Regions from separate parts of the Homo sapiens genome. Here regions 2 and 3 are each linked to region 1. Evidence: promoter capture Hi-C in human tissues and cell types (Jung and others, 2019). All regions are on one chromosome and are shown on one strand. The core of a region is centred on a gene start or on the middle of the fragment in contact, and the rest is flanking DNA. Distances in the headings are between cores, read along the strand shown.

What was found. Contacts are between HindIII fragments. The study calls those that stand out against the background at their distance.
Region 2: a fragment that was not itself captured here is called in contact with the fragment with the promoter of CDC14B in region 1 in 1 of the 25 tissues and cell types used here (hippocampus).
Region 3: a contact is called between a fragment that was not itself captured here and the fragment with the promoter of CDC14B in region 1, in 1 of the 25 tissues and cell types used here (aorta).

What each region holds. Positions count from the first base shown.
Region 1 is chr9:96,618,022-96,621,433 of GRCh38, forward strand. CDC14B (cell division cycle 14B) reads right to left here and starts at 1,822. Exons shown (of 14, transcript NM_033331.4): 1 at 1,198-1,822. The coding sequence starts at 1,357. RefSeq lists an enhancer at 973-1,473. The HindIII fragment of the contact is 32,033 bases long and covers 1-3,412 here.
Region 2 is chr9:96,850,512-96,853,923 of GRCh38, forward strand. It overlaps ZNF782 (zinc finger protein 782), which reads right to left. Exons shown (of 6, transcript NM_001001662.3): 2 at 2,342-2,558; 3 at 1,436-1,494. The coding sequence starts at 1,450. Among named protein-coding and RNA genes, the nearest start is that of ZNF782, 2.3 kb to the right of the region's middle. RefSeq lists a silencer at 3,336-3,412. The HindIII fragment of the contact is 3,556 bases long and covers 1-3,412 here.
Region 3 is chr9:96,407,341-96,410,752 of GRCh38, forward strand. All of the region lies in intron 1 of ZNF367 (zinc finger protein 367), which reads right to left. It also overlaps the pseudogene NSA2P7. Among named protein-coding and RNA genes, the nearest start is that of ZNF367, 9.3 kb to the right of the region's middle. The HindIII fragment of the contact is 3,941 bases long and covers 1-3,412 here.

The DNA of each region.
Region 1 (3,412 bases), core at 572-3,071:
AGGGCAACCCCTTCCTATGCCCGCTCTGGTTCCCAAGGGCCATCCACCAAAGCCGAGAAACCCGCTCTGCTCTCAGCTTCATTTCAAAACGAACTTAGTTTCCAGATTGTCCATGAACCTAGAATATTATTTCTCCTAAACGTCTGTGTTTGTCTAAACACTTCCACTTAATGTTCTCGCCACTCCAGCTTACCTGGTTTATCAAAGGCTAGGGGCTGGAAACAGTTTTTAATAACGCCACGCACCGAGGTTGACACATTCCCCGCCACTGAAAACAGACTGCCAATTCCCTCAAAATCGTGGACAGCTCTGCTGTTTACACAGCGTTGCCACATACATCATCACATTTAATGCCTTCACACGCGTCACTGTCAATCCCAGCAAACCTAACAGCTGCCAAATTGGATTTATGAGTCTCCAAGAACAGTCGAATCAGCACTAACAGAACAGCTATCGAAGGGCTGCTTGGCTACCTGCTCTGGCTGGCTGGGATTTCTCAAAAGTGACAACCCGGACATTCGTCTTGCCGGCTGGCTCGAATGCCACCAACGTGACACCTTCCTTCTCGAGGCCCCGGCGGGGAGCGGACCCCGGGAGGCGGAGGCGTTCGGGGGGCGCGCTAGGGGGCAGGGCGCGGGAGGCCCAGGAGAGGGGCTCGGGCTTACGCGCCGGACGGGCAACGCGGCGCCCAGGGTCCCAAGGCTACGGAGCAGCGGGGGTTTGGCCAACGCCAAAAAGGGGCAGCTCCCGTGCCAGGCGCGTTCAGCGCGCTCGGGGAATCCTCAGGGGCTGATTCAGAGGTTGTGACTCGCGCGAGGGCCAACCGGGCTCGCAATCCCTGAAGGCGGAATCCACAGGAACTCAGAAGCAGCCCGCGGGGAGGAGCTGCAGGTTCGAGGCGCCGGGCTGACGCCCGCAACTTAGAAAGGTGACCCTCGGTCCATCTTGCTGGTGGAGGAGGGTGCACAAGCTAAAGTTAAAGCTCGCAGCCCACGCAGCTAGAAACTCGGGGCGGGGGGCGCTCCTCAGGAGCCAGGCTCCTAAAGGGGGTGTGGCGGCCGGGGCGTTTAAGGGGGTGGGGGCGAAGGCATTTCGGCCCGGCCCCGGAGGCCCCGGGCAGCCCGGTGGGAGGTGGGCCAGGGCCCCGCGCCGGGTGCGGCCGTCCGGGGCCCTCCGCGCGCCCACTGGCCGGCTCACCGGTGATGTCCAGGTACACGTCGTCCTGGGGGTCCCGGCGGCGCGGGTCTTGCTGCGTGGAGCTGCGGATCTTCTTCACACCCGGCGAGGTCGACGAGCAGCGCCGCGAGCAGGGGGGCGCGGCGGCCCAGCTCGACCGCCGCTCGCTTTTCCGCTTCATGGAGGCGGCCGCGGCCCGTCAGGGGGCCACGACCATGGCCCCGCGCGCCCGCGCGCCCGCCGAGGCTCCCGCCAGCCCCGCGCGGGCGCTCGGGGCGGCGGGCGCAGAGCGGCGCTGCGGGGACGGCGGGCGCCGGCAGAGCCCGGCGGGAGGCGGTCGCGCAGGAGCCGGAGGAGGAGCCCGGCCCACAGCGCCTGCCCCGCTGCCTCCCGCGGCCGCCGCAGGACCGGCGCCGCAGCCCTCGCTACAGCGCCTCCTGCCGCGGCCGGCGCCCCCAGCCCGCCCCCAGGTGCCCGCAGCCGGCTGGCGCGGCCGAGGCGACGGGGCTGCAGCTGGCGGCCGGAGCTGCCCGGGGTAACCGTGCGTGCCCACCGCGGCCGCGGCCGCTGCTGCGTAGGCGCCGGGGCACAGCAGGACGCGGCTCGTGGGGACCCCAGGAGGGCTGTTCCGTGGCGCTTCATTCACAAAAAAGGGCCCACAACCCTCCTCGGGGCCCGCAGACTGAGGCCTTTCATTGGCCAATGCGGCGTGACGTCACGGAGACGGGGCCTTTCTACAGGCAGGTACTCGGTGACGCCATAAAGAAAACTCTGAGGGCTTCCGCCAATCAGAGATAAAGTGTGCTAGCGACCTTCGCCAGCCCCCCAACTTTTGTTTCTTCTGTGTCCTCCAGGTGCCAGCACCCCAGATCCCAACTTTCTTTAGTGAGTCACCAAACATTTACACAGCCCCACCCTAGTAACTTAACTCCAGGTCTTTGGCATATATATATCTTAAAGTATTTCTTGAATTTCCTTGTAATTCGCGCCAAGAGAAAGGGACTTTTGCCATGGCTGCCAGCTTGGAAGAGGATGGCCTGATTACATTACCTGCAGCTATATAGATTTAAAGTAGAGTTGATTTCAGAACTTAAGTAAAACTATTTAAACAACTACGCTCTATTTATCGACCTATGCCCAGCATTCAAACAGGCCAAGCAAGGGCTTCTTAAGGACCCGATGAAACTTCCGTGGAACCACAATATACCGTGGTTGTTTGCACCTCAGAGTTTCTCATCTCGGAATCCAGCGCCCACATTAATTCAGTAAGTTTATACACTCATTGCTGTGTATACTGAGGTGTCGACAGGTCCGATTATATCATGAAGTATTGAAGCAAGGGGCAAGTTTTGTCCTTAAACTTCTTTATCTGGCACACTGTAGGGTCATATCCTCTTCTTTTTCTACTGGATTAAAATAATGCCCTATCTTCCTGGAACTTAACCAAAAACTGTCATTTTGGAGGGCCTTTAAACAAACGTCCATGGTAGCATCTAAAAGGGTGAGAAGATTGGAGGGCAGTGTTAAGATTTCACGGCCCCAAATTTTACAACATCTGCAAGCTGTCCCTATTTTTCACCAGCACTTGAACGTTTTATCCTGCAGTTCCGCAGTTAACTGCCAGCCTGGGGAAAAGAAAGATGAATTTGAGTCAGTCCCCTTGGAAGCCTCTCAGAAATGCAAATTTTCATAGAGCACCTCAGGAAGGGGCTCTTTGACTTCTATTGTTGTGGGCTTTTACCTTAAGCACGGCTAAATAAGGAAGTAGGGGGGCTGTGTCTGAAGCTAGAGATCAGCAACTCTGTAAGCACTTTTTCTTAAGGTTGGTTCTCCTGTTCACTCTTCCTCTGTTTCCCCTAAGGAAATCAGTGAAGGCCTTAAATTTAAAATGATCTACATGTCTGTCTGTAGGGGCAGCAAAGAAGCTAGAGACGTGGGAGGCTGTGCGGCGCTGCGCAAGTAAGTTTTAGAGAGCAGAAACGGTAGGGTCACAGTCCTTTGTTTTGACCTGGAGGAGGAGGAGGAGACCTTTCAGACCGGCCTAGGGGCTCAGCATTGGAAAGCCACCCAGTTTCCCAGACTACCAGGGATTTTAAATGAGTGGGTCTTGTTTTGAATAGATATTACAGGAGAGTGGTCCGTGTGGCTCCCTGGAAGTACAGAGAAACTACCTCCATGACATTATGATCTTTTGAGAGTAATTTGTTTAAATGTCAGGAGGCAGAGGTTGCAGTGA
Region 2 (3,412 bases), core at 501-3,000, 230 kb after region 1:
TAGGGAAAGGTGCTAGGGATAAAAAACTACCTATAAGGCACAATGTACACTACTTGTCAGACCACGGGTGAACTAAAATCTCAGAATTCACCACTATATAATTCATCCATGTAACAAGAAACCACTTGTACCCCAAAAGCTATTGAAATAAAACATTTTAAAGAAATGTTTTAAAGTATAAAGAAAAGACAGCATTTATTATGATTATTTTAGTCTTGCTCTTTCATTTTAGTTAAGGCCTGTCTTGACTTCTTTTAGACCCTGGGTAGTAAAATACATAAAATAAAATGTAAAAGTAAAATGTTCAGAATCTTAGTTGAAAATTTCAAATACGTTTTGTATTAAAATTGAAAAATCTTTCCAGTTTTAGTAAACATACAATATTATGAAAACTTTTGCATCTTAATAAATATATCTAAGTAAAGTGCTAAGTAAGTAGGCAAGTTGCATCTTCAGTGTTAAAGTATATTAGCACAAGGATGGTAAAGCGGTGTGAAAATTATAAATTTTTATAATTTGTGTATGCAAGGTGGTTTTTAAAATAAAATATCTTAGTATCTCATTTTATTTTTCTCTTGGTTTATACCTTGTCTCTCTGTACATCTATAACTTAATGCATACTGACAAAGAAAAATCTTGTTTGATAATGGTTAACCAACAATAAACATTTACTAAATCTAAAAAAAAATAAAAAAAGTAAATGATTACAATTTTCTATGAAAATGTAATGACAAAAATTATATTGAAAAAGTACAACTCCAGTATAAGCTTATAAGAAGCTGACTAATGAACTAATACATTTATTCAATAATCAAAATCTTCACACAAAAAGTCTTCGCAAGGTCCAAATTCATAGGTGAGTTTCATAAAATCTACATATAACACAATGTTCTCATTTTTCTAAATTATTAGAAAAGAAGAAACAAGAAAAAGTGCCCCATTTCCTTTCATGAGACAACCATGATACCCTAACTGAACAGGGAAACAGGAAAGTATAGTTTAATCCAATTTGTGAACACAGAAATAAAAATCCTAAATTATTACCATAAAGTGCTAGGAAAACATGTAAGAAGCAACTTACTACACTCATTAGCAACTAGGGTCTATACAGGAATTCAAGTTACTTTTAGAAAATCCATTATATTATTCACAATATTTACAGATTCAAGGACACAGCTATAGATTTATTCTGATACATAAAAAGTATTTAATATAATTCATGTGCATTCATGACTAACATGACATCTTGGCAAACTGGTAACTGGAGGGAACCTACTAACCCTGACAAAGCTGACAGCAGAGTTCATGGTGAAACTGTATATATTTTCCCTCAAGATTTACTTATCTATTTCTCCTTTTCCATTTAATGCAAGGGCCTATCTAAACCTCATAAAATCCATTACAATACAAAGTGGGGAATGAATAAAAAGCTTACCTGAAATGTGTTCATTTTCTGTGGCTCTTGGGAGAGTATAGAGAACTGTAAAGCCTCAGCTGGGGGGACAGAAAGAGGATGTCACACGGTCTCGCCTACCTCACAGCTCCTAGATTAGCCTCCCCAAATCTCAGCAACCCAGTTGGAGAGCAGCCTTCCTAAGGTAACAGGGCCCTTCAGGCCTTGAAAAGGCATGAGAAGCACCACGTAGAGGTGGCACTGTCTACGACAACTCTGAAATAATTATGGGGCTTAAACTGCTGTTTTTTATTGAGTGAACATAAACTTTTCCCAATTGATTTAACAATGCACATGTGCTTCTAACACACACACAAAAATAAAGACAATACAGGATTAGTTGAATTAAAGTACACCACAGGGTAAGACACTATTCTTTCATTAAAATTAACCTAGCAGGTACTGTGGTTCAAGCCTGTAACCCCAGCACTTCGGGAGGCCAAAGAGGGAGGACAGCTTGAGCTCAGGAGTTCAAGACCAACCTGGGCAACATGGCATGACCTTGTCTCTACAGAAAATAAAAACTTAAAAAATTAGCCAGGTGTGGTGGCATGCGCCTGTGGTCCCTGCTACTTGGGAGGCTGAGGCAGGAGGATCACTTGAGCCCAGGAGGTAGAGGCTGCAGTGAGCCATGTTTGTGCCACTGCACTCCTGCCTGGACAACAGGATGAGACTCTGTCTCCAAAACACAAAATTAACTTAGCAGAAAAATATTCAGTGTGCATCATTTAACTATTTTTCTTAGTAATATTATTTACCCTTGGTATAGACAATCCACAGAAAGTCTTATAAAAGAGATGAGATACTTTAAGGCAAAGAGTTTTAGATGTTTTAACTGGGATGTATTTCTCAAAAGGCCCTTTGGATAAGATGCTTTTGGTGACTCACCTGTGAAAGAATGAACGGAACTGTTTTCCTCCTGGCTCTACCACAAACGAGGGATCCCCGGAAACTCACTGAACCTTTCATGCCCAATGTCTTTAAAGCTTTCAAAAGAATCAGAAGTAGATAGCCACGGAAAACCCTTCATGTATCATCATGCATGGGATTCTATGAGGTAGGGACAAAGTCTCCAGTGTCACATATGTTAACAGCAGTATGGCATCTGTAAAGAGTGGAGAACAAAGCGACTGGGGGCTACTTTGGGATCTGGGGACAGAATCTCCGGTTACCCCTACCCTCAGACCTATGCAATGATGTGGCCTTTCCTGAGCAGCCTGTCCCTGGCCACCACCTAGCCCATTTTGCTCTTCTCAAAGCTGGCCCAAACCACCCACTGTCACCCATTGTGTGGTGGCTTCTGGAGGCTTCACCAAGTCTGGCTCATTCTGGGAAGGAGGATCAAGAACTGCTTCTGACCATACACATCTAGGATCTGCTCCTCTGTGGGCTCTTCTGCCTCTGCTCTGAAGCTCGGGAGGGAGGCCTAGGTCTGAGAGGTGTTCTCTTCCAGGTAAAACTGTTCACAGAGACCCCTGCTTCCCACCTCGCAAGGGCTGCTCTGTTCAAGGAGCCTGCGACCTGACCTGAGAAACCATGTTAGTGGCAAAAATCTGACTCTTAGAATTCTTTACATCAGACTTAAAAGAGAGACACCCTGACAATGCAGAAGGGGCCAGGAACCTGTCTGACCCAAGAGATCTGAAGACACACCAGAAATCCAGACTACATTTGACACATGGTAAGATTCCATCTACATCCACTCCCTGAGTATTTGGGGACATGACATTCTGCTAAGTGCTGTGAAGGCTGCAATGCTGGTTTTAGGCAGGTGTGATATTAGCGCCTGAAACGGGAAATAAATCACACCTGCCTTTGAACCCCAGCTCCCTCACTGCTAGCTTGTGACCTGAGCCTCAGTTATATTTAATGCAGATGTGGTTGTGAGGTATACATAGGCACCCAACGAATGGAACAAAGTGTCTTCTAAATATAACAGCAGCAGTCCGCTCATGGCTT
Region 3 (3,412 bases), core at 240-2,739, 210 kb before region 1:
TACCATGAGAAAAAGAGAAAGAAGGAAAGTCGAGAGGCTCATGAACGTTCAAAGAAGGCAAAGAAAATGATTGGTCTGAAGGCTAAGCTTTAACATAAACAGCGCCATGCTGAGAAAATATAAATGAAAAAAAGACTATCAAAGATGCATGAAAAGAAAAACACCAAACAAAAGAATGATGAAAAGACTCCACAGGGAGCAGTACCTGCCTATCTGCTGGACAGAGAGGGACAATCTCGAGCTAAAGTACTTTCCAATATGATTAAACAGAAACGAAAAGAGAAGGCGGGAAAATGGGAAGTCCCTCTGCCTAAAGTACGTGCCCAGGGAGAAGCAGAAGTATTAAAAGTTATTCGAACAGGAAAGAAGGCATGGAAGAGGATAGTTACTAACGTGTGCTTTGTTGGAGATGGCTTTACAAGAAAACCACCTAAATATGAAAGATTCATCAGGCCAATGAGACGGGGTTTCACCGTGTTAGCCAGGATGGTCTCGATCTCTCTGATCCGCCCGCCTTAGCCTCCCAAAGTGCTGGAATTACAGGCATGAGCCACCGCGCCCGGCCAACGTGAGTAATTTTTAATAGATTAAAATATTGGCAAATAGCCTGTTTCTGTAAATAAAGTTTTAATGGAACACAAAATAAATAAATAAATAAATAAATAAATAAATAAATAAACGTTGGACACAGGAAGGGGAACATCACACACCGGGCCTGTCGCGGGGTGGCGGGAGCGGGGAGGGATAGCATTAGGAGATATACCTAATGTAAATGACGAGTTAATGGGTGCAGCACACCAACATGGCACATGTATACATATGGAACAAACCTGCACGTTGTGCACATGTACCCTAGAACTTAAAGTATAATAAATAAATAAATAATAAATATTTTTTAAAAAACAATGTGGGAAGGCTACATATACAAAAGAAATGAAAACAGAATCTCAAAGACATATTTGCACATCTGTGTTCATTGCAGCATTATTCACAATCGATAGCAACCCAAATGTCCACTGACTGATGAATGGATAAATAGTGCTATATACAGTTTAGCCTAAGCAAACTCAGTGTGTTAGTAACAATGGAAAACTACTCAGCCTTCAGAAAGATGGAAATCCTGCCATATGCCATAACATGGATGAACCTTTAGGAAATTATGCTAAGTAAAACAAACCAGTGACAAAAAGGCAAATACTGCATAATTTTACCTATATGAGGTATCTGAGGTCATCAAACTCTTAGAAGAGTGGTGGTGGCCAGGGACTAGAGAGGGGCGGGGGAAAGGCAAGTTCAGTGAGTATAGAGTTTGTTTTACAAGATGAATAAATTCTAGGGACTTGTTGCACAACCGTTTACATATAGTCAACACTACTGTACTGTATACTTAAAAATGGTTAAGGTAGAAAATATTATCGGGTTTTTGCCACAATTTTTAAAATGTCAGAAGGCACTGTGGCAGATATTATTGCAAAAACATTCACTGCCCCTTTCACTGTGGGTCCAGAGTGCAACTTAGCCATATGACTTGCTTTGGCCAATAAAATGTGAGTGAAAATAGCCTGTGTAGTTTGGATGTTTGTCCCCTCCAAATCTCATGTTGAAATTTGATCCCCAGTATTGGAGGCGGAGCCTAGTGGAACGTGTCTGGGTCATAAAGACAGATCCCTCATGAACATCTAGACGCTGTGCTCGCTCATATTGTTACCATGAGATCTGACTGTTAAAAAAAGCCTGTCACTTCCTCCCCTCCCTCTTGTTCCCTCTCTCACCATGTGAAACCTGCTCCCCTTCGCCTTCTGCCTTGATTCGAAGCTCCCTGAGGTCCCTCACCAGAAGCAGATTCTGGTGCCATGCCTCTGGTACAGCCTGCAGAACTACAACCCAAATAAACCTATTTTCCTCATAAATCACCCACCTTCAGGTATTCTTTTATAGCAATGCAAAATGGACTAATACAACATACGGTTCTACCATCTCTGTTTTCTCTCTGCTTTGAGACCCATCTGTCCCAGCTTGGAGAGATTCCTTCAGGATCCTAGAATGAACAGAATGTGGAGCACACCAGTGGTCAACCCTCCCAGGACACATAACATGAGCCATGTTGAGGCTGAGATTGCCATCTTGAAGTTGCATTCTGCAGCCTGCTTTTTAGCCTGAGCTAACTGACTCAGTGGGTTAGTAACGAATATCTGTTGATGAAACAAAAAGCTCATCAACCTTACTTAATTACTCAAGAAATTCCCATGCATAATGAAACAGGAATTAGCAAGATCCTAATGGACCATGACTTATTAAAGTACAAATTAACAAATCAACTTCTGGCCATGATTGGTGGTCATCAAATTCTTTCATCTTCTTTACTCCTTGGCTGTGATCCTCAGTAGCCACATATAGCTCAAGTCTTGCTTGCTAAAATTATTAACACAGAGTCAGACAGAAGGAGCTACACAGGAGTGAAATCTTCATTGCCATCATTTATTAAGCCACAATAATTTCATGGATTATTGCTGGTTATGGTCATATCATGAATAATTGTTTTAATAAGTACAAAATAAATATAAAAGAATATAGCATCTGTGATCAATAAAAATAGGAGCTGATTCTGTTAAGAAAGAAACAGAACATGAAATCAGGACAATTAAAAACCACAGGCCAGGCGCGGTGGCTCACGCCTGTAATCCCAGCACTTTGGGAGGTCGAGGTGGGTGGATCACGAGGTCAGGAGATTGAGACCATGGTGAAACCCTGTCTCTACTAAAAATGCAAAAAATTAGCTGGGCGCAGTGGCGGGCGCCTGTAGTCCCAGCTACTCGGGAGGCTGAGGCAGAATGGCGTGGACCTGGGAGGCGGAGGTTGCAGTGGCCGAGATCGCACCACTGCACTCCAGCCTGGGCGACAGAGTGAAACTCTGTCTCAAAAAAAAAAGCCATAGGCCTGGCTGGGCGTGGTGGCTCACGCCTGTAATCCCAGCACTTTGGGAGACCGAGGCGGGTGGATCACGCGGTCAGGAGATCGAGACCATCCTGGCTAACACGGTGAAATCCCGTCTCTACTAAAAAATACAAAAAATTAGCCGGGCGTGGTGGCGGGTGCCTGTAGTCCCAGCTACTCGGGAGGCTGAGGCAGGAGAATGGCGTGAATCCAGGAGGCGGAGCTTGCAGTGAGCCGAGATGGCACCATTGCACTCCAGCCTGGGCAACAGAGAGAGACTCCGTCTCAAAAAAAAAAAAAAAAAACAAAAAAAACCATAGACCAGGCACGGTGGCTCACGCCTGTAATCCCAACACTTGGGGAGGCCGAGGTGGGTGGATCACAAGGTCAACAGATCGAGACCATCCTGGCCAACATGGTGAAACCCCGTCTCTACTAAAAATACAAAAAAAAATTAGCTGGGTGTGGTGGCACGCGC